Regions from separate parts of the Homo sapiens genome. Here regions 1, 2, 3, 4, 5 and 6 are each linked to region 7. Evidence: promoter capture Hi-C in 16 types of primary human blood cells and fetal thymus (Javierre and others, 2016). All regions are on one chromosome and are shown on one strand. Each heading gives the region's core, a stretch centred on a gene start or on the middle of the fragment in contact. The rest is flanking DNA. Distances are from core to core; before and after follow the strand shown. Region 1 overlaps ADGB (androglobin). Region 2 overlaps ADGB (androglobin). Region 3 overlaps ADGB (androglobin). Region 4 overlaps ADGB (androglobin). Region 5 overlaps ADGB (androglobin). Region 6 overlaps GRM1 (glutamate metabotropic receptor 1). Region 7 holds the start of RAB32 (RAB32, member RAS oncogene family).

Evidence for each region. Contacts are between HindIII fragments. The CHiCAGO score rates a contact against its expected background, and 5 or more counts as called.
Region 1: a fragment that was not itself captured here is called in contact with the fragment with the promoter of RAB32 in region 7 in 1 of 17 cell types (fetal thymus); the score reaches 5.1 in fetal thymus.
Region 2: a fragment that was not itself captured here is called in contact with the fragment with the promoter of RAB32 in region 7 in 2 of 17 cell types (neutrophils and megakaryocytes); the score reaches 6.4 in neutrophils.
Region 3: a contact is called between a fragment that was not itself captured here and the fragment with the promoter of RAB32 in region 7, in 1 of 17 cell types (megakaryocytes). The highest score is 5.8, in megakaryocytes.
Region 4: a fragment that was not itself captured here is called in contact with the fragment with the promoter of RAB32 in region 7 in 2 of 17 cell types (neutrophils and monocytes); the score reaches 7.2 in neutrophils.
Region 5: a fragment that was not itself captured here is called in contact with the fragment with the promoter of RAB32 in region 7 in 7 of 17 cell types (monocytes, megakaryocytes, neutrophils and 4 more); the score reaches 17.3 in monocytes.
Region 6: a fragment that was not itself captured here is called in contact with the fragment with the promoter of RAB32 in region 7 in 1 of 17 cell types (M1 macrophages); the score reaches 5.1 in M1 macrophages.

Annotation. Positions count from the first base shown.
Region 1 is chr6:146,788,786-146,791,937 of GRCh38, forward strand. The region is part of intron 33 of ADGB (androglobin); the gene reads left to right. Among named protein-coding and RNA genes, the nearest start is that of ADGB, 190 kb to the left of the region's middle. The HindIII fragment of the contact is 5,555 bases long and covers 1-3,152 here.
Region 2 is chr6:146,732,878-146,736,067 of GRCh38, forward strand. It overlaps ADGB (androglobin), which reads left to right. Exons shown (of 36, transcript NM_024694.4): 21 at 243-378; 22 at 1,016-1,153. It overlaps LOC105378040 (a long non-coding RNA gene), which reads right to left. Exons shown (of 4, transcript XR_943093.2): 3 at 2,420-2,471. Among named protein-coding and RNA genes, the nearest start is that of ADGB, 140 kb to the left of the region's middle. The HindIII fragment of the contact is 3,821 bases long and covers 1-3,190 here.
Region 3 is chr6:146,762,375-146,765,509 of GRCh38, forward strand. ADGB (androglobin) reads left to right here. Exons shown (of 36, transcript NM_024694.4): 28 at 1,527-1,726. All of the region lies in intron 1 of LOC105378040 (a long non-coding RNA gene), which reads right to left. Among named protein-coding and RNA genes, the nearest start is that of ADGB, 160 kb to the left of the region's middle. The HindIII fragment of the contact is 2,607 bases long and covers 386-2,992 here.
Region 4 is chr6:146,715,407-146,718,758 of GRCh38, forward strand. It overlaps ADGB (androglobin), which reads left to right. Exons shown (of 36, transcript NM_024694.4): 14 at 1-9; 15 at 1,477-1,663; 16 at 2,130-2,193. Among named protein-coding and RNA genes, the nearest start is that of ADGB, 120 kb to the left of the region's middle. The HindIII fragment of the contact is 4,096 bases long and covers 1-3,352 here.
Region 5 is chr6:146,694,099-146,697,501 of GRCh38, forward strand. The region is part of intron 12 of ADGB (androglobin); the gene reads left to right. Among named protein-coding and RNA genes, the nearest start is that of ADGB, 97 kb to the left of the region's middle. The HindIII fragment of the contact is 5,580 bases long and covers 1-3,403 here.
Region 6 is chr6:146,339,351-146,342,686 of GRCh38, forward strand. The region is part of intron 3 of GRM1 (glutamate metabotropic receptor 1); the gene reads left to right. It also overlaps the pseudogene RNA5SP222. Among named protein-coding and RNA genes, the nearest start is that of RAB32, 200 kb to the right of the region's middle. The HindIII fragment of the contact is 1,595 bases long and covers 804-2,398 here.
Region 7 is chr6:146,542,315-146,545,557 of GRCh38, forward strand. It overlaps RAB32 (RAB32, member RAS oncogene family), which reads left to right and starts at 1,519. Exons shown (of 3, transcript NM_006834.5): 1 at 1,519-1,807. The coding sequence starts at 1,558. RefSeq lists a silencer at 1,093-1,472. The HindIII fragment of the contact is 5,944 bases long and covers 1-2,380 here.

The DNA of each region.
Region 1 (3,152 bases), core at 203-2,702, 250 kb after region 7:
ACTAAATATTAACCAAAAGACAAAAGTGGGCAAAAGCCCCCCTACAGATTTGCAGGTGTATTTTTTCTGTGTATAGGTTTTCTGTGTCTACAAATGCTAGAAATAAAATGTCAGCATTCACACATACACTTCTCGTTAAACACAGATTTTTTTGTGTTATCTGTAGTATGCTACAAGATAGATTTCCTTTTTACCTTTCATAGCAAATTTTAAGAATGTCATTTTTTAAATGTTGAAAAAGAGCAATTTTCAGTGGTGCACAAGTCACCCTGACCTGATTCATTTCTATATGGATTCATATCTGTTCACTAAACTGAACTAAAACCCTGATCAAAGGAAAATGCCTTTCCACACTCCTGGTTTCCATGAATTCCTAAGCAACTCCTCAACTCCTTCTGTCTTAAAGGGAACTAAATGTCCTATTAATGCATTTGGAGAGAATGAATGAGGCTGCCCATGGAAGCACTGCTTCTCTCTCAGGTGTGAGCACTACCTAGACTGTGCTGGAACAGTCAGTCAGCTTCAGGTGATCATGGCCCATTTGTCTCTCACATCAAGCTACATCCTCCGATTAAACCTGGATCAATAGTATAATCTTACTCTATTTTTCTACTTGTTTTGAACCCAGACAGCAAAGAAAGAAATCTTAGAAAGAAGCATTCTCAGAAAAGCCAACAATGGTTCTTTTCTCAAAATTGCTAAACAATTCTGAGAATTTTTAAATTAAGAAGTGTTTAAAGCTAAAGTATGTCCTTAAGTGATTTCCATACTGAGAGGAAAATTCTAAAATTAAAAGGAATCTTTTACTATACTAACAAGAGATTCTGATATTTTTTAACCAATATTTTGAAAGTACATGCCCATTCAATAGGTAATAGCTCACATGATGGTAGCAGTAAAACTCATTAGAACACATTTCATTTACCATTAATATTTAATTTGTAGAGTAATTTTTCCACTCTTATCTCACTTGAGATTCCAGGAATTAGAGAAAGCATATATTGCTATCTCCACTTCTAAAATGACAGAATTGGCAAATAACTCACCCAAGGGCAGGAAACTGATGCAGTTTGGCTAGAACCTGGACTTACACCCAGCTCTTTGGTCTCCATATATTGTGATCTTGAACTGAACACAAACTTTTCCTCATCCTTAGTTAATTTAAAGATCTATAAAATAGAAAAATGTAGCCAAAACAATGCAACTTAAATTCTGATATCAAATTATTTACTTATGTGCTAACAAAGTAATCCTTTTTGAAATTTCATTTTTAATTAACAAATAATTATATATATTTATGGGGTACAATGGGATGTTTTGATACATGTATAGGTTATGGAATGATCAAATTAGGCTAATAAATATATTCATTACCTCAAATACTTATTATTTCCTTGGAGTGAGATCATTTAATATCCACTCTTTGAGCTATTTTGAAACATCCAATAAATTGTTAGCTGTGTTCACCAAGCTATGCAATAGAACACCAGAACCTATTCCTGCTAGCTAACTGAAACTAACTATACCCTTTGACCAACATTTTCCCTTTCCTTGTCCACTACACTATGACCCCCCAGCCTCTGGTAACCACCATCCTAATATCTATATCTACAAGTTCAACATTTTTAGATTCCACATATAAATGAGATCATGCCGCATTTGTCTCTCTGTGGCTGGCTTTTTTACTTAGCATCTTGTCCTCCAGGTTTGTCCATAATGTGGCAAATGACAGAATTTTCTGTTTGTTAAAGGCTGAAGAGCATTCCATTGTGTCTACATACCACATTTTAAAAAATCCATTCCTCTACTGATGCGTACTTTGGTCCTTTCAACATATTGGCTGTTGTGAATAACGTAATGCACATACAAGTACAGACACCTCTTTTACGTACTTATTTTAATTCCTTTGGATATATACCCACAGGCAGGATTGCTGGATCATGTGGTAATTCTACTTTTAGTTTCTTGAATAACCTCCATACTGGTGTTTCAAATGGCTTGTAATAATTCCCAGTACCACCAAAGTGTACCTGAGTTCCCTTTTATTCACACTCTCACCAATGCTTGTTATCTCTCATCTTTTTTTATAATAGCCAATGTAACAGGTATGAGGTAGTATCTCATTGTGGTTTTAACGTGCATTTTTCTGATGACTGGAGATGTTAATCATCTTTTTATATATGTGTGGGTCATTTGTGTCTCTTCTTTTGAGTAATATCTATTCAGGTTCTTTACCCATTTTTTAATGTAGTTATTTGCTTTCTTATTATTGAGTAGCTTAAGTTCCTTGTATGTATTGAATATTAGCCTCTTATCCAATGTATGGTTTGCAAATATTTTATCTCAACCCATGGTTGACTCATCACTTTTCATTGTTTCATTTGCACAGCAAAGGTTTTTAGTTTGGTACAGTCCCACTTGTCTATTTTTACTTTTGTTTCTGTGCTCTTAGGATCATATTCAAAGAAAATATTGCCCACACTGATATCATGGGCTGTTTCTCCTGTTTTTCTTCTAGTAGTTTTATACTTTCTGGACTTATGTTTAAGTTTTTAATCTATTTTTAGTTGATCATTTTTGGTTTTTGTTTTATTTTTAGAAAGGTTGGAGTATAGTGGCTCAATCATGGCTCGCTGCAGCCTCAACCTCCCAGACTCAAGTGATCTGCCCACCTCAGTCTCCTGAGTAGCTGAGACTATAAGCGCATGCCACCATTTCTGGTGAATATTTTATTTTTTATAGAGATGAGGTCTCACTATGTTGCCCAGGCTAGTCTCAAATTTATGGGCTCAAGGAATCCTCCAGCCTCAGCCTCCTAAAGTTCTGGGTTTACAGGCATGAGCCACCCTGGCCTAAGCTGATTCTTATATAAGGGTCCATTTTATTTCTTTTGTATGTGAATATCAGGTTTTCCAAACACCGTTTATTGAAGAGATTTCCCTTTCCCATTGTGTGTTCTGTTCCATTTGTTTTCAGTTTAGTTTTTATTTTGAGACAGGGCCTTGCTCAGTCACCCGAACTGGAGTTCAGTGGCACAATAACAGCTCATTGCAGCCTCAACCTCCTGGGCTCAAGCAGTTCTCCACCTCAGCTTCCTAAGTAGCTGAGACTACAGGCATGTGCCACTGCACCTTGCTTTTTTTTTTTTTTTT
Region 2 (3,190 bases), core at 425-2,924, 190 kb after region 7:
ATTTTCATTGAGTCTATATTATAAACGTTGTAGTGATTACATTTTGTTAAATTAGAAATAATCAAATGATAATTTTGGTCTCTTACTGGGCAGGTGAGACTTCAAAGAATCTTCTGTTAGGTTGCGTGTACATCTGAGAAATGGTTTTTATTTTTTATTTTTAGAGTATCTAAAAATTTTTTAGAGCTTCTCTGGCCAGATGATGGTATTTTCTTGCTATAAAAAAAATTTATGTGTTTCAGGTTTTTCATCTTTCCTTATGGCGTTTAATGAAAAAAGTTCAAATAACAAAACCTCCTCCAAACTTCAAATTTGCATTCCGGGCTATGGTTTTGGACTTGGAGTTACTCAATTCCTCCTTGGAAGAGGTTTCTTTAGGTACCCATGAATTGTATATATTTAATCAAGGAATTCCTAGTTTTAAGTAAGGTAAATAATTTAAGAAATGTGTTTGTGGAGTAAGTGGAATAAGTCTGTGTGGACTGTCATGGAGTTCAAGCAGTGCTCTAAGAGCTCAAGGGGCTCCAAGGACCTGCTGGGGATCCCCTACCCCTAATCCCCACCACATATACTTCTAGGGGAGTGTCTTACAGGGGAGAATTTCCCTGTTTTATTTACTCCTAACCTTAAAAATATGGAAGTCACTAATCTATATGGTTTGATTTGAAGAATTCTGGCAAGATCCTCTGACTCAAGTAACCCTACTTTTCTCTCTTCTTCCCATGCTCTGCTCTCATCATTTTAACATGTCTTTTATTTTTGAGAAAAATCTCTGGCTATATTCACACAGGAATCAATAGTAGTTCACCAATATGTCCCTATTTTGTGTGTTTTCCCTCCTGCAGAATATTTACATTCTAACAAGAACCACCTAGAGCCGGCAATATTAAATATGATGCTAACTCTTGCAATGTAGAATTTTATATGTTGGAGGGCTTTGGCAGCTGAAGGCGTTGAAACTTAGGGAAGGGATTAAATATAACTTTCAGTCCAAAGTTTGTTTTTCCCTTTCCAGTGGAATGGCTGGACGTTAAATATTGTATGCCCACAAGTGATAAAGAGTATTCTGCTGAGGAAGTAGCAGCAGCAATTAAAATTCAAGCCATGTGGAGAGGAACTTACGTTAGATTGCTTATGAAAGCCAGAATACCAGGTATGATTGTCCAAACATTTATAAAATGAACTTGTTTGTATAAGAATAAATATTTATGTGTGTTAATGAAAGTATTTTGGAGTCCCCCACTTTATGGCTAATTAATTTCAGTCCTCTAAATAATGAAATTATTTGAAATCAGGAAGCATGTCCAATGCACCAAGTGTCTTGTTCCCAGGATTGGCACAGTGCCTGGTGCATCATAAGCACACAATAAATACTTGCTGAAAGAATGAGTGAAAAAATGAATGCATTATCAGCTTTGTTTTCCCAATCTATTGCAAGTTCTTTTAAAACAGGGAACTGGTCTTTTTCTGTATATATCCCAAGTAGCTAGCACCTGTGCTACCTCAGTCAGCCTCAGCTAAGTCATAGATATTTTCACATTTCCAGATGATTTTTCAAACAAATGAGTGAATAATTAAGTGAATGAATAAACTAATGCATAATAAAGAAGCCACTATGTATGTCCATAGTGACACACATCTAGAAGGCATAAAATGCATGTTAAGTGTGTTCTTAAATTTATTAAATCAGATACATCTATGTATATGAAATAAAATCTTTTTGCCAATAGGCCAGTTTTATCAGCTTAAAATAAAACATGGCAGATGCAAAACTTATATTCAAGCACTTTGGGAGGCTGAGGGGGGCAGATTGCTTGAGCTCTGGAGTTCAACACCAGCCTGGGCAACATGGGGAAACCATGTCTCTACAAAAAATATAAAAATTAGCCAGGCATGGTGGCATGTGCCTGTAGTCCCAGCTACTTGGAAGGCAGAGGTGGGAGGATTACTTGAACCCAGGAGGTGGTGGTTGCAGCGAGCCTGAGCCAAGATCACACCACTGCACTCTAGCCTGGGCGACAGGGTGAGATCTTGTCTCAAAAAAACAAAAAACAAAAAATATATATTCAATTATTTTCATTCTGTGGTTTTTGCTGACATTTTGATAGGAGAAGCCTTACCTCCAATAGAATTCTTTACATATATTGAAAAACTTTCTTGTAAAAAAAAAAGAATCTATTTAAAACATTTAATGATAATATTTAAAATGTTTAAGCAGTAAAAACGTCAGATACACAATGGTTTAAAAACCCTAAATTACATAGTTTAATGATAGTTGTCTAATTCAATGGGTTTTTTCCTCATTACAAAACATATGCATTCGTCAAACTCAATATAGGATGTCTTGCTTCATTTTGTGCTGCTATAATGGAATACCAAAGACTGGGTTATTTATAAAGAACAGAGATGTATTTCTTACAGTTCTGAAGGCTGGAAAATCCAAAATCAAGGGGTTTGCATCTGGACAGAGCCTTTATCCCATGAGGAAGGTGGCAGGGCGAGAGAGCACATTCATGAAAGAGAGAGAGAGAGATAAAGGAGGGATAGAGAGAGCCAGAACTCATCTTTTTATCAGGAAGCCACTTCTGAGATAACTAACACACTCTTTCGATAATCACATTAATTCATTCATAAGGGCATAGCCCTCATGAGCTAATCACCTCTTAAAGGTTCCACTTCTCAATGCTGTTACTTTGGGAATTAAGTTTCTAACACATAAAGTTAGGGAAATATATTCAAACCATGCATATGGTAAAATATGCTTTTATTGTCCATATATGTTGTAAAAATTTACATATAATGATTTTACTTCCCTTTTTAGAGACTGAAAATATGGGCAATTTAGTAATGTACTTCATAGAGTTTGTGTTCAACTATTCAAAATGTTTTTTAAATGGTGTTTGCATTTTTTTCACTCAACATATATTTATTGAATAACTCTTGATTGCATGGCAATGTTACATATTTTGGCCTTATAGCAGTCAATGAAACAGACAAGGTTTCTACTCTGATGAATCTTGTATTCTAGTGAGAGTAAGCATATAATAGACAAGTAAATATATGAAGATATCAATTTCAGATGCTGGTAAATACTATGAAGAAATTAAGATAGGATAATTAGAAAAAGAATGTTAGTTTCTGATACAGTAAATTTGAGGCTGTTAATAAGGATTCACATTTTCTTGGCAAA
Region 3 (3,135 bases), core at 439-2,938, 220 kb after region 7:
ATATTTCATTTTTCTGTGATACTCACCATTTGTTCACTCAGTATGTTCATCTTTTTCCATAAATCCTTAAGCACATTTTAAATAGCTATTTTAAAGTCCTTGTTTGATGAGTCCAACATTTTTATCAGCTTCATATCTATTTCTATTGACTATTTTCTCAAGTTATGGTCACATTTTCTGCTTCTTCATCTATCAAATTGATTGTGTGCTGTATATTGTGCGTGCTACACTGCTAAGAGTCTAGATTATGCTCTTTTAATTGAAAGAGTGTTGAATCTTGTTCTGGCGGGCAGTTAATTTATTGGCAGCTTGATCCTGGTCCTGAGCTTAGTAAGTCAGTTCTAGAGTTGCCATGACTCTAGTGTTAGGGTAGCTCTACTCTTAAAGCTTGGCCTTTCTTGGGTCTCAACTGAATGCTCTGCATATTCACTGAATTCCCTTCATTTTGACAAGTCAGAATTTCAATGTCTCTCAACACTGTGGAACTACCAGAATCTTCATTAAGCTCACAGCCCCCCAGTAGTTATTGTCTGCCTGGTATTGTTGAGTGTTTGCACAAATGAAGTTTAGAATTCAGCTAAAGACTCAAGTGGACACCATGTCTATTTCTGAGCTCCTTAACTGCTCATATACTCCCTTCTGGTATCCTACCTCAAATTTTACTTGTTGCAGGAGCCCCACTCACCCATCTTTGTTTCCTAAACCTAGCAGCACTGCTGTTCACTACTTTGGGCTGTACTTCCCTGTATACAGTTGGGAAGGTGCTTGCAGGCAGAAATCTCTGGAAATCAAGAGGTCACTTTGTATGTTTCCCTTGTCTCAAGGATCACAATCCTGGGCTGTATATTTTCCGGTGGCTAAAAATAGTTGCTTTATACGTTTTGTCCATTTTTATCATTTTTTGTGGTACGAGAATAAGCCCAATGTCATGGCTGGAATTAGAATATCCCTGTGTCAGTCACTTATGTTTTTTCAATACATGTTTGATGAATTAATTAATAACATTCAACATATTTCCATTTTTAAACCTATCAGCAGTACTTATATGATCTGTTAATTAGAAAATAATTGAAAATAAAAATTCTTCACCACATTTCCATTTTTAAACCTATCAGCAGTACTTATATGATCTGTTAATTAGAAAATAATTAAAAATTGAAAATTAAAGAGAAAGTCTTTTATAAGTGTGATAACATACATATGTGGCATTAAACACAGAAAATCAGTGTCTGGCGTTAGCTTAGGGTCATTCAAGTGGCACAAAATAAATGAGAAATTGTTGAACTGTTGTATATACTTTTAGAAATAAGTGGTTACTCAGAATATACATTGCTCTGTGCATGTCACATACTATTATAATAGATTTCCTTAAGAACAATAAACCAAAAACACTGTTTTTTATCTCACTAAAACAAAAGAATTGACCTATTCCTTTGAGTGTTTTATAAAGGAATGTAACTGATTTAGTCAGTAATAACTATGTATATCACATATTTTAACTTTAACTTAGTATTTCTCCTATTCAGCTAGCAAGCACATTCTTTCATTTCACTCTGCATCCAAGAAAGAGCAAGAAGTGTATGTTAAGAAGAAAGCTGCTCAGGGAATTCAGAAATCCCCCAAGGGTAGAGCTGTAAGTGCAATACAAGACATTGGTCTACCCCTTGTGGAGGAGGAAACTACCAGTACACCCACTAGAGAAGACAGTTCCAGCACACCACTGCAGGTATATTAAAAACAATTGTTCAATTGGACTGTTCCTAAAACCCTAACATAAAACAAAACAATCATTTCCCTAAAAATAGTCAATATACAGTGTGCAGTGCTGCCAATGTATAGCCAGAATTGGAGAATAAGAGAGTCTTGAACAGTTTCTCTGTGCCAAGATCTTTAAATACATCTTGGCACAGAGATGTATTTAATATGTACATGAATACATCTTGGCAAATTTAATATGTACATGAACTCTATAATGTACCTGTAATTATCTAATTTTATAGTTGGGTTATAAGAAGCTATATAACTTTGTGGGTCACATATTAATAAATGTCACATATTAAAGGTCATATATTAATAAAACTTAATTTGTATGTGCTTACAATTAAAGGGAAAAAAGATAATGTACATATTTATAAAACAGCAGACAAAGGTATGACCTAGCCATTGGAAACCAAAAAGTAAAATAAGTTTAAATTAAATTAAAGGAATAGAAAAGAAAATGCCAGAAATAAATGTTAATATCACAGAAATTACAATAAATCCAAATAGATCAAATTAATCAACTAAAATGCTAAAATTTTAAAGTTATATAAAAATAAGATCTAACTATTTTAAACAAACTGCTGTAGAAAGTTTCATGATAGAATGTTAGAAAAACATACCTGGCAAATATGAACCAAGAGAGAGCTGTGATGATAGTGTTTTGTTTGTTTGTTTGTTTTTTGAGATGGAGTTTTGCACTGTTGCCCAGGCTGGAGTGCAATGGCGTGATCTCGGCTCACTGCAACCTCTGCCTCCTGGGTTCAAGCGATTCTCCTGCCTCAGCCTCCTGAGTAACTGGGATTTCAGGTGCCTGCCACCACACCTGACTAATTTTCTGTATTTTTAGTAGAGACAGGGTTTCACCATGTTGGCCAGGCTGGTCTTGAATGCCTGACCTCATGATCCACCTGCCGTGGCCTCCCAAAGAGCTGGGATTACAGGTGCGAGCCACCGTGCCTGGCCTGATGATAGTTTTAATACATATAGAAACATTATATAAAAATAAAAGGTAGAATAAATCAAGTAGACATGGCCATAACTAACATATAGGCACCTAATTATCTAGACACAATAAATAAAAAGCAATAACTATTAGAACTACAGAGATAAAAAGATAAGTAAATCATGAATAATTGAAGATTTTTAACCCATGCCTCGTGGAAACTGACAGTTCAAGCTGAAAAACTAAGTAAATAGAATTGTGAGAATTTGAAAAAAAAATCTAAATATAAGCTTAATCATTTAGATATCTATATGGAACACTTTACCCAATAAACAGAGAATATACTTTTTTGGCACACATGAGATTTTTTTAAAATATCATGTAATAGACAATAAATGGAAGCCTCAATAAAATCCAAACTATCCCTATCA
Region 4 (3,352 bases), core at 563-3,062, 170 kb after region 7:
TTGGAAAAGGTAAATTAATAATTTTCCTGTGACTTTTTTCAATGTACATCAAGATACAGAGGGGCATCTCTGCTTCTTGACAGCTTCCCTTCTGGCTCTCAGCAGCCTTTCTTCAGTGTCTCCTTTGATTTGCTGAGTCTAGTCTGCTCTGGGCTTTAAAAAAAGAGATAATTTCAATTGTTAAATTGAAGCTAAAAATAAAAATGAAAGAGAATCTGATTACCCACAAATAAAGTTCATGTGTTTTAATGCTGCACCCTGTGATCGAAACACTAAAACCACTGCAAATTCCTTAGTTCCTAAATAAAAGACTTGGCCAAGAATTGAATTCAAAATTATATATATATTTTTGGATCCAGAAGTCTTTAAGAATGCTATGCCGGCCAGGTGCAGTGGCTCACGCATGTAATCTCAGCACTTTGGGAGGCTGAGGCGGGCAGATCACGAAGTCAGTAGATCGAGACCATCCTGGCCAACATGGTGAAACCCTGTCTCTACTAAAAATATAAAAATTAGCAGGGCATGGTGGTGTGTGCCTGTAATCCCAGCTACTTGGGAGGCTGAGGCAGGAGAATCTCTTGAACCAGGGAGTCAGAGGTTGCAGTGAGCCAAGATCGTGCCACTGCACTCCAGCCTGGACTCCGTCTCAAAAAAAAAAAAAAAAAAATGGTATGCCACATTACTTGGTAAATATAAAATAAGGCTCTAGAACCACTGACTGTGGGGAGTGATTAAATGTGTTACTGAAACACATTTGTTGCACCAGATCTTTCAAGTTTTCATTTCCCTTTCTGTTGTCTGAGCCACCCCCTCCTATAAGAATATGTCCATCTAGAGCAGATTTTCAGTAAAGAATCTAGCTAATTTGTGTTGTAACTTCACAATCTCTAAAGAATCTGTGAGGGCCGGGCGCGGTGGCTCACGCCTGTAATCCCAGCACTTTGGGAGGCCGAGGCGGGTGGATCATGAGGTCAGGAGATCGAGACCATCCTGGCTAACAAGGTGAAACCCCGTCTCTACTAAAAATACAAAAAAAATTAGCCGGGCGCGGTGGCGGGCGCCTGTAGTCCCAGCTACTCGGGAGGCTGAGGCAGGAGAATGGCGTGAACCCGGGAAGCGGAGCTTGCAGTGAGCCGAGATTGCGCCACTGCAGTCCGCAGTCCCACCTGGGCGACAGAGCGAGACTCCGTCTCAAAAAAAAAAAAAAAAAAAAAAAAAAGAATCTGTGAACAAATTCGTCAAAGTAATTCTGAAATTTTTGAACACCCTGATATGCATAGAAATTGTGATTAAATTCTCCTTTGTGTATGAAATGTGTCCCTGTGTGGACCTCCATAAATGTATGAAGCCTGGATTATCTCATAAATATTTTCCCAAAAATAGACTTTGATATTTAAGTTTCCCTTTATCATTTTACATATTTCAATAACTTGTTATTTAACAATATAAGATGTGTTTGACATGTGTGTCTTCTAGGCACAGATGAACAAACAGACTTTGGATTGGGTGATGCTCATCAGAGTGATGGATTAAACTTGGAAAGAGAGATAGTCAGCCAGACCACAGCAACACAGGAAAAGTCACAGGAAGAACTTCCAACAACAAATAATAGTGTTTCTAAAGAAATATGGTTAGATTTTGAAGATTTCTGTGTATGCTTTCAGTAAGTATACCAATGGGATCAATCTGACTATGTCGTAGTGGTTAAACCCTGAGCTGCATTAGTATACAAAGTCACATTAAGATTTATTTTTGCATATTTAATATAGTGGTTATATAACCTATTAATTCTTAGCATCATCCAAAATAAGCCAATAACAGCCTAGTGTTGGTATAATATCAAATAAAATTTATAAAATGGAAAATAAATATATTGATTATCCATATAACACATTAATAGCCAAACCAATCTTAGGCCAGTTGCAGCTTTTCCTCAAAGGCTTGTTTCTTAATTAAAATGAAGAAATCTTATTCACTAGAATCATTCTTGTCCCTTTAGGGCAACTGACCCAATACTGTTGTTATTTTTTAACTTTCTTCCTACAATAATTTGATTATAAGAAACTTAACATGTAGTACTAGTCTTTGCCTATAATGACAATAACCTGTTAAAAATGTCTTTCTTTCAGAAATATATATATTTTCCACAAGCCAAGTTCATATTGCCTTAACTTTCAAAAATCAGAATTTAAGGTAAGTATGTTAGAATCTTTTCTATTCTCTTTAAATTTTTGGTAGAATTGCACCCGTAGAAAACATCTTCAAATTTCTCAAAACATTTCTAAACTTGTAACATAGTTATATTTTTAAAAATTAATTTTTAGAGTCTCTCACTAATCCTTATCCAAGCAATAAGCAAAATTCCACTAGCTCATAACCACAAATGTGATCCATCTGACTATGTTGAATCCTGGCCTGAATTATTATACAAATTCACATTAAGAAAAATTTGAATTATGAAAAAATGAAGGACATGCACAAATAAATTCACTAGATTTGGTTTCAATTAGTATTTATTGAATAGTGTATGTTTCCTAAAACATAAGGACACTCCACCATTATGCCTGCATTTTTTCCCCCGTATCATCCCTCTGCCAGGAGTTTCTGTCCTTTCATCCCTGTTATCCTCATTGCTGTTGTTCAGCTAATGCCTAGAAATCCTTCAGAATAGCACAGATGCCCTTGACACTGTGAGGCTTCCCTTCCCTGGCCATGGAATCTGGGTTAAGAGTCTCAGCTTCACCAGCCTGACCAACATGGTGAAACCCCATCTCTGCTAAAAATACAAAAATTAGCCAGGTGTGGTGGCATGCGCCTGTAATCTCAGCTACTCAGGAGGCTGAGGCAGGAGAATCGCTTGAACCTGGGAGGCAGAGGTTGCAGTGAGCCGAGATTGCGCCACTGCACTCCAGCCTGGGCAACAGAGTGAGATTCCATCTCAAAAAAAAAAAAAAAAAAAAAGGCTCAGCTTCATGTCCTCTGTATGCTCTATGTTTGCCTGGCATTTGCCTCCCACCCTCCCAACTTTCTGATTGCTTCCCTGTGCCCATTCTTCCCCCTACTTACTGTTAGCATCTTTAGAAGAGCTGTATCTTTTTGTTTACCACTTATAAGAACATTCCTGCCATGAGGTAGGAACTCAATTTAAAAATTGTGGATTAAAGTAATTAACAAACCACATATTGAGCAGAATTTTAAGAAAAACTATGACACATATTCCGGGAAACTAAACTGTACCAACATTTACATGTTGTCCTGTCATAGGACAAGGCCACCCAAGCCCCTAATGATAATCCCACACCTCCATGAGCAGTACGCAGAGTTGGAGGAAGTAAAGAGTCCTTGAAACTTT
Region 5 (3,403 bases), core at 111-2,610, 150 kb after region 7:
CTCCAAACTCTTCCAGCCTTTATTACCCAGTTCCAAAGCTGCTTCCACATTTTAGGTAGTTACCATAGCAGCAATCCCACTTGCTAGCATTCATGTTCTGTCTTAGCCTGTTTGGGCTGCTATAACAAAATACCATAGACTTGTGGCTTGTAAATAACAAAAAATTTATCTCTCATACTTCTAGAGGCTGGGAAGTCCAAGAACTGCACGCCAGCAGAGTCAATTTCTGGCAAGGGTCTGCTTCCTCATGCATGGCATCTTACCACTGTGTACTCACCTAGTGGAAGGGGTGAATGAGCTCTCTGGGGTACCTTTTACAAGGACACTAATGCCATGCATGCAGGTTGAGTCACCTCCCAAAGGCCTCACCTCTTAATACCATTATTTCAGGGTTTAGGATCTCAACATATAAATTTGATGGCAGAAGTATATACACACCTTCAGACCATAGCACCTTCCTTCCCCTTCATCTAGCAAGTAGTGTGTTCTGTTGATGTGTTTTGTAAATTCATCCAGTTCTTCCCCTAAAATGAATAATATATAAAACTCCTAAAATAATACATTGCAGCTTTTTTAGCTCCCTATCTACATGAAAAATCTTCAAATATTTGACAACAATTATATATGCACCACTCCATTCTCTTATTATTAGGTTTCTAGATGTGTAAAAAAATACTGTGTAAGTTATTTTCCAGTCCCACTGGACATTTCAGTTACAAAAGCCAGTGGAATTTCTATTCTTATTAAAGCTACTATGAATTAGCCTTCTGTCACTTGGACACAAGCAGTCCTAACTGATACTGCAATATAATAGAAATGCAATGCAATGTTATCAACAGTGTCATTAATTTAGTCAAAATTTGGGCTAAATTAACCACTTGTAATATACACATTATTAATATATTAAATAATGTCTTTCCTTCTTAAGTAGAGCATACTCAAAGCCTTCCTTGCTTCCTGGATGAATCATACTTAGCATTATTACTATACTGTCTTCTAACAGAGGGACCTCAAGGACTTTGAGGAACAATGACCCTAACATTCAATGACCTGAGACTACTGGCTTTTCCGGGGCTTTGTTTCAGTGATTGGCTTAGTTGTAGTTTTAATTTTGCTTTCATAGTACTAATGATGTCTTTATCAGTTCTTAATATTGTCTGCTTCCAATAGCCTTCCCTTCTCCAAATTTGTTTGTAATTTTCTGGGTGTAATGAGTAACATCACCAAATTTTTAGAATTAGTTAACGTTGCTTTGTATATACTTATAATAAAGACATTAACAGTTAGCATATGGGCTTTGTATCTACACTGTAACAATTGGATATTTAACATAGTAACTTGGAAATCATAGGCATTAAGTAAATCATAGGTATTAAGTAAATATTAATTGAATTGATTAAAATATTAAAATATTTTGAAGCACCTAAGTTATTCAGTATTTAAAATTATGTTCTTTCCTGTATGGTAGGCACTAGGCACATGGGGCTATGTAAAATTTTTTAAGTTAATTAATATTATATAAAATTAAAAATTAATTTCCTTAGTTGCATTAGCAACATTTTAAGTTCTCAGTAGTCAAATGTTCTAAGTGAACATTTTCATCATTGCATAAGTTTCTTCTAAATATTAAAAGGAATGAACAAGTGACCTGTCCATAATTGTAGCATTTTACTATAACAGTATTATATTATTTTTAGTTTTTATTATTTTAACCCATATTACTATTCATAGATTAAAATGAAAAGCTCATTCATTCATATAATGCAACATAACTAAGTGGCATTTTCTTTGCCCTATTGAGAAGACCAGTTGAATGTAATTGTCCTAATAGTTAAAGCATTTCAACTTCAACCTTTTAAATCAATTTTATTTAATAAATAAAAATGTATGCTTTCATGACAAATATACTAAAATTTGTGTCATTGCAGTGATTATACAAAAGCAATATTTCTTAAGTTCCCTTTTATAGTAAGAAATACTTTTTTTTTTTTTTCCCGAGATGGAGTCTGCTCTGCTGCCCAGGCTAGAGTGCAGTGGAGCAATCTTGGCTCACTGCAACCTCTGCCTTCCAGGTTCAAGTGATTCTCCTGCATCAGCCTCCCAAGTAGCTGGGATTGCAGGTGTGTGCCACCACACCCGGCTAATTTTTGTATTTTTTGTAGAGATGGGGTTTCACCATGTTGGCCAGGCTGGTCTCTATCTCCTGACCTCAGGTGATCCACCCACCTTGGCCTCCCAAAGTGCTGGGATTACAGGTGTGAGCCACAGTGCCCAGCCAGAAATACTTATTTTAAGATAAATTTTGAATTGGTTGAAATAAGGCCTACTTCAAATGTTCTTTAGCATCATAAAACTTAAAAAAATAAATTAAATGAGCCCCCTTATTCCAAGGATATTTAAATAAAGTATTGAGGGGACACAGAGGATTAACTAGAAAGGGCACTGTTTTTGTGAGGAAAAATGTATTAATTAATCAATGAAAACTCTGACTGTAAAAATAAAGTGATATGAAAATATTATATGTAAAACAAAGATACTATTGAAAAATGCCCTCACTTTTCTCTTTCACATTGTTTGTTTTACTGCTTTGGTGAGATGTCAAAGCTGCTCAAATTATGTTCCTAAAAGGAGTAGACAATGTAAGAGTGCAAGCTGGTGAGAGATTAAAGGTGGTGATAAGAAACTGGGATATTGCCTGGAGACAGAAGAGAGCCAGAGAGGCTTGGTGTATTTCATATTTAGAAGTACTCTAATTTTTTTTCTTGTTTCTAGTAATTATGCTGATGGGAAAATCTGTCTGTCTTTACAGATTTGGCTACTGTTTTAGAACAACAAAAAAGCATCTTACCTACTTTAATCATTAGCACTGATGAATATTTTCGGTTATTACCAGCTAATTAAATTACAAGATTAAATGATTGTCATAGAAATGTGGAAAACTGGGTGTGTCACTCATAGGGAAAAAAAAGACTAACTAAATACAACAGCAAAGACAATGAAGAACAATGAAGAGAAAGGGGGAAGGAGGAGGAAGAGGAACCCACACTCACTAATATTTGAACATCACAATAGGGATAGAAAGAAAGACTGTAAAGCTGGGTCTGAAGTTTTTATTGAATCAGAAGTGACCATGAACTTCACAAATAGCAATAACTGGTGTATTGGGTGATATGAGTGCAGGGTATGATGGTTGCCGTTAAAATTGTGGTAATTTTTAATGCAGCAATAGGTGGCTAATACATGGTTATACACATATATCAAAGACTAGCAAATTTACACTTTGAATTTGTGCAGTTAACTGTACTTCAATTATCCTTCAATAGAGTGGTGAAAATTTAAAAAAGAAAGTATGTAAAGTGGTTTAAAAAATAAAATAGAAATTCTAGAAGCAAGGAGTATAATG
Region 6 (3,336 bases), core at 351-2,850, 200 kb before region 7:
CATAGTTTCAGACTAAAATAATAATCTGAACTTTTCCCTTTCATTTTTTCCATTTATACACACTCATTTTATTTCCACAGACATTAAGAGCTCTGAATTTGACTAATATACTAAATAGACACCTCATTTATATTACAGCTTTTATTCAATAATCTTGAGTGATAGCTTATAGTCATCATATCAGGTTTTCTTTTGAATATTCTTAAATGTATTGTAGTCACCATCAATAATAATCATGCTTCAGTTAGATCATCATCCTATTGCTGAGTTATCAGTCATTCACTATAAGAATAATTGAGATAATATGAAAGACAATTGTCTAAATAACTTATTACTGCATGAAAATAAGCAAAGTGCGCTGATATCACAGAGTCTACTCTGACAATACAAAGAAGGTTTTGCAAATTGGTGGCAGGAATAGGGGAAGTGCTGTGCTGGATTTCTGGCAGCACGCTAGCCCTCAGCTATCCTTTCCCTTAACATCATAAGCTACGTTGGGCTTCTGTAACTTGTACCACCATAACATTCCACTGTGGGAAGCCAGGGACCATGGAAACCCATTAAACTGCAACATCCCTTGGCACACAAAATAGGCTTTTCCTCCTTAATGAACACAGTTTGAAAACAATCCACCAAGGAATTTTGTATGCTGTTTCAGTTTACATTAGCAGTTGCAGACGTACCTGGTGACTATGACTCAGCAGTCGTTGAGGCATAAGGAAATCATTTCTGCCTTCACTTTAGATTCTGTGAGCTTTCAGGGGGCACTACTGAAAAATCAATGCCAGGTATGTACTTAGAGAAGCTTCTGTTAATGGTTTTCCTGTTGACCTAGCCCATAGAAGAATCTGTCATATTTAATTAGTGTGGCAGTATCATGCTGATCAATCTTTTCCCTGGTTTTTCTTTCTTAACTATTTCTGAGCATATACAGAATTAATACACCTATCTTGGTACTAGTGCCCATTTTTCAGCAAACTAGTCTCTGCAATGACTTTCTTGTCCCTTGTTGAAGGGTAATCTCTGCTGCTGCATTTTTGTTTTTGTTTCTAGCTGTGTAAGAAATTAGTGCAAGGGCCATACCACCCTGAATGCTCCCGATCTCGTCTGATCTCAGAAGCTAGACAGAGTCAGGCATGGTTAGTACTTGGATGAGAGAAATCAGAGCATGGGACCAAAGCCATATTTCTTTTTTTTGTTTTTTGTTTTTTTTGAGACAAAGTCTCACTCTGTTGCCCAAGCTGGAGTGCAGTGGTATGATATCAGCTCACTGCAACCTCCACCTCCCGGGTTCAAGCGATTCTCCTGCCTCAGCCTCCCAAGCAGCTGGGACTACAGGCATGCACCACTACACCCAGCTAATTTTTGTATATTTATTAGAGACAGGGTTTCAGTATGTTGGCCAGGCTGGTCTTGAACTCCTGACCTCGTGATCTGCCTGCCTCAGCCTCCCAAAGTGCTGGGATTGCAGGCGTGAGCCACCGCGCCCTGCCCCAAAGCCACATTTCTAACCTCACTCGTAGCTTAGCATGTCCTCTTATTGAGAAGGTTGCCTCTTTCTGTGTTCAGTTCAGTTGGAGGATGCTACAAAACAACAGGCCCCAAAATAGTAGGGTCCTCTGAATGCACACATTCTAGTATTTAACCCAAAGCATGTGCAAACCCACATGCATGCACACACATGGTGAGAGAGTTCTGCTGTACTACCACTGCATTTTGTACCCAGAACCAGGACTGCCCTCAACTAACACAGGCTTTGGTGTAAATCTAGTACCTCAGTCTAGATTCTTCCTTTATGTTGAGTTAAAGGTATCCATTGCTCATTCCTTCAATCTAGCCTTGGTTAGGTATGACTAACTATGGTCTATTTTTCCTGTTTTCTTGGTTTTGGTTAGAAAAACCAAGTGGTTAGCAGTATGTTAAGATTTCTGTCTCCCTCCCTCTCTCTAGAATTGGCTCCTTGTTTATGCAGTTTTGAGAATCAAATACATACAGCGAAGCGGTAGAGGGACCACTCCTATTTCATCTAAATTCCAAGCTCTAGTTGAAGATGTTTTTCTTGTAATATTATAAAATAATATACTTTTGGCATAAAAATGAACATGGAATAAGTGTAGACAAATAAGCACCTGACCACGTTTGTGTTTGTCTCATATATTCTCATCTCAAAATAACTAGAAACCATCAGGGAGAATCTTGATATGTTGCCCAATTAGTATTTTGGTAGGACTGAATCCCACGATGAAGACATCATCCGAAAAGGGAATAACACATGACTCTCTAGAAAGCAAAGTTCCCCAAAGCACTAAGAAAGTTCCACAGTCAACAGAAACATTGGCCCAGAGATGCTAAACTCCGTATGTTCCTCAATCACATTTCTGATGAGTGTGTTTTGGTAAGCTTGTGCAAGGTCACTTTGCAAAGACCTAACCCCAACGGTGCAGCCAGTCTTAACGAGAAGCCTTATAGGCATGGGCGCTGCTTCTCTGAGACAATTCCTTGTGGCACCTTAGAGCTTCTTTAAAGTTTGTTATCATTATTTGGGCTCTAAACTAATATTAACAACCATGACTGTATGCCTGCCTCAAGGGCCACTCATTTAATTAGAGTCTTAAGTTAACCTTTTTTGTGTATTTACCCCTAGAAGAGAAGGTGCACTTGAAACTTTTTAAGTGCATGAACAATGACTATGTCAGAAGAAATGACCATGTAACAGTCTGGGAACTCAGACAAAACCTTAGGGAATCAGTTAATAGTTTATTGTGGCGGTGTTGGTCTGAGGGTTTTAGAATCTATAATACTGACTTTTAGTGGTGAGCTTCTTTCCAAATTAGTTTTGCCTGTTGATTTTTAACCTCCTCTATGCAGTGATGAACAAAGCATCTATATAAAGAGCTATGCAAAAATTTGGTCTCTGTATTAACATCATTCATGTGAAATAAATCATGGCAACATTACATGTGATAAAATGTGGAAGGTCTCTTTATAGATTATATATTGTCTGCAATCAGGGACAAATTTTATTTTGTACACACAAACATTTGTTAATATTGTGACAAATATCACATCTTCCCATTAGCTTGCTGAGTGTAATGTTACTCTGGGACAGTAACTAAGCAAGAGACAGAAGTATCTTGTACTTAAGAGTAAGAGTTGCAGAGTCAGGCAGGCTGGGTGTTAATCTAGTGACCTCCACATCCACATCCAGCTGTGTGATCTTGGACAAGTTATTTGACCCACTAGTCTTTAGATTGTTCATCAATAAGTTGAGGTTAGTCCTATCAACCGTTTCATAAGTCCTTGTGAGATGAATAGAACAGCACATGTAAAGCACCT
Region 7 (3,243 bases), core at 269-2,768:
GATATTGCACAGTATCTTTCTTTTTGTGTCTGGCTTATTTCGCTTAGCATAATGTCCTCCAGGTTTATCCATGTTGTTGCAAATGTCAGGATCGCCTTCTAAAGGCTGAATGATATTCCATTGTGTGTGTGTGTGCGTCTGTGTATATGCGCGCGTGCATGCCTATGTATGTATTACAATTTCTTTATCCATTCATCGTTAACAGACACTTTGGTTGTTTCCAAATCTTCGCAACTGTGAATAATGCTGCATGAACTTGAGAGCGATTTCTGAGATCCTGATTTCATTTCCTTTGAGTATACACCCAGAAGAGGGATAGCTGGGTCACTGGCTTTAGCAACGATTTTTGCAATATCACACCAAAAGCCCAGGCAACCAAAGCAAACCTAGATAAATGGGACTTCATCCAACTAAAATGCTTCTGCACCGCATAGGAAATAATCAACAAAATGAAAAAACAGCCTATAGATTGGGAGAAAATATTTGTGAGCCATATATCTGATAAGGGGTTAATATCCAAAATACATTACGTTCACAGAACTCAGCCAAAATAAATAAATAAAACACCCAGTTAACTAACGGGCAAAGGATGTGAATGGACTTTTTTTTTTTTTCCAGAGGAAGTACAAATTGCCAACAGGTATAAGAAAAGGCGCTCAAAATCACTAATGAACAGGGAAAAGCCACTAGGTATCTCCTCACACCTGCTAGGATGACTGTTATAAAAAAGATAAGCGATAATAAGTGTCGGTGATGTGCGGAGCAAAGGGAACCTTGTACACTGGTGGTGGGAATGCGGACTGGAACAGCCATTATGGAAAACCCTACGGAGGTTCACTCAAAAAGTTAAAAACAGAACTACCAGCCCAGTGTTATCCGTCCTTCGTTAAGTTCAAAGTCACGGTGCCACTTCCTTTCCCATCTAAAGGGGACTGCTCGCGACCCAAGCCAAGGCCCGCAAGTGTGGCTCTCCCTGCGGGGAGAGTAGGGCAGGAGGTGGATTTCCAGGCCAGAGGCTTCCAGGCTGGGCCCGGACCCCACGCCGACCCCGGCCCCGGGGGGGGCTCAGCGACCTCGGCGCCTCCTCAGGCCCCCAGTGAACCTCCGGGGCCCATAAAGGCTCCAGGCCGGCTCCCCGGAGGCCCACCAGCGGGCGTCTGGGCCTCCCTCCGCGCCGCGACCGCCAGGAGGCGCCGCCCGGGAGAGGAAGTCCAGCTGGGCCCGGCCGGGCTTCGGAGGCGCCGCCCGGGAGAGGAAGTCCAGTTGGGCCCGGCCGGGCTTCAGAGGCGCAGGGCGGGAGCCGCCTCGCGCAGGGTCCTCCCCAAGCCGGCGCCAGGCCCTGCCCTCGTCCGGCCCTGCCCTCGTCTGGCCCCGCCCGGGCCGCGAGCACTGGCGGGTTCTGGGTCCTGTGACCGGTCAGGCGGCGTCAGCGGGCGCGGCGGAGGGCTGGCCGGCCTCGGGGGAGTTTCCGCGGCCGCCGGGGGCGCGGCGGCAGAGCGCGAGGCCGGGCAGGGGGCCAGACTCGGAGTCGAGGCGCGCCCGACAGCCGCAGCGCTCATGGCGGGCGGAGGAGCCGGGGACCCCGGCCTGGGGGCGGCCGCCGCCCCAGCGCCCGAGACCCGCGAGCACCTCTTCAAGGTGCTGGTGATCGGCGAGCTTGGCGTGGGCAAGACCAGCATCATCAAGCGCTACGTCCACCAGCTCTTCTCCCAGCACTACCGGGCCACCATCGGGGTGGACTTCGCCCTCAAGGTCCTCAACTGGGACAGCAGGACTCTGGTGCGCCTGCAGCTGTGGGACATCGCGGGTAAGCGCGGCCGCGAGTTTCCCACTCCAGAGCCCCGCCGGGCCGCCTGGCTCCTCTCTGCTTCTTTTCTTTTTCTTTTCTGCCTGAACTCGTCTGCCTGGGTACCTTTAGGAGAAGAGAGAGGCCCAATCCAAGGGCGAGATGCGATGGACGCGGTCGGCTGGACTCGGTGGGGCCCAGAGGATGGGATGGGCAGTAGGAGTTGGAGCAGGTCCTGCACGCCAGAGCTCGCTCTCCTGAAGGGAGGCGAGGAGGCCAGGGGGCCTTTTCCAGAAGTTTGAACTCTGAATAATGCAAGTATATCATACATACACCAGGACTAGTTGAGAAGGCTGCTTTGGAGCGGGCCGGCGCCTCTCAGCCTCAACTCAAGTTCAGAGGGATTGGGTGACTTAACCCGAAGCTGCACTCCTAGTTAGTGACACCACCAAGACCAAAAGCCAGGTTCCTTTCCAGATCATTTTCCACCACCCGCCTTGGCTCTGAGACTGGCCTTTGTGAGGGAAACTCCATTCCTCAAATACTTTGCTCTCATCGGAAGCCGAGGACAGACACTCCGTGAAGATTTGGGAAAGCTTTTCTGAAACCTTACACTCACCCCTTCCTCTCTTGCTAAACCAACACCTAGTCCCATCCCTGGTGCCCTCGCCCCCCCCCGCCCCCCCCCCACTCCTCAATACAGTGTTTCTCTGCCATTTGCTTTCATTTGTTCTGTTTGAGGGGGTACATTTCCCTCTGCTCTGATTTATGAACACTTGAACTTTGCCTGGTGTGGTGGTTGGGAGTGGGCGTTTTAAAGATGATGTTAACTATTGGAAAGTTCATAGAAATGGTACCAAGCCAAGTGCCAGTGGCTCACGCCTGTAATCCCAGCACTTTGGAAGGCCTAGACTGGAGGATCGCATGAGCACAGGAGTTCGAGACCAGCCTGGGCTGTTAGTGAGACCCTGTCTCTACAAAATACATACATACATATATACATACATACATACAAAAAATTAGACAAGTGTGGTCGTGCGTGCCTGTAGTCCCAGCTACTCAGGAGCCTGAGGCAGGAGGATCACTTGACCCTAGGAGAGGTCAAGGCTTCAGTGAGCTGTGTTCTCACTGCTGTACTCCAGCCTGGTCAACAGAGTGAGACCCTATCTCAGAAAAAAAAAAAAAAAGTACGAAAATTACTCTGTTCAATCATTACAGGTGTTAAGAAGCACAGTCTGCAGTACAGCATTAGAATGGGAGCTGGTTTAGGGTTAGAGGACACCTGAGGCCACCCTTCATTCTACAGTCCCTACACTGAAGCCCATGGAGGGTATAGCTACCTGGCTGGTAGCAGAGTGGTTGGGGGGATCACAGGTCTACTGTCTGTCTGCCAGGTAGTGCTCTTGTCATTTATAGCTTGTTACATAAGAAAGAGTAGTAAATAATTGTAACCTATA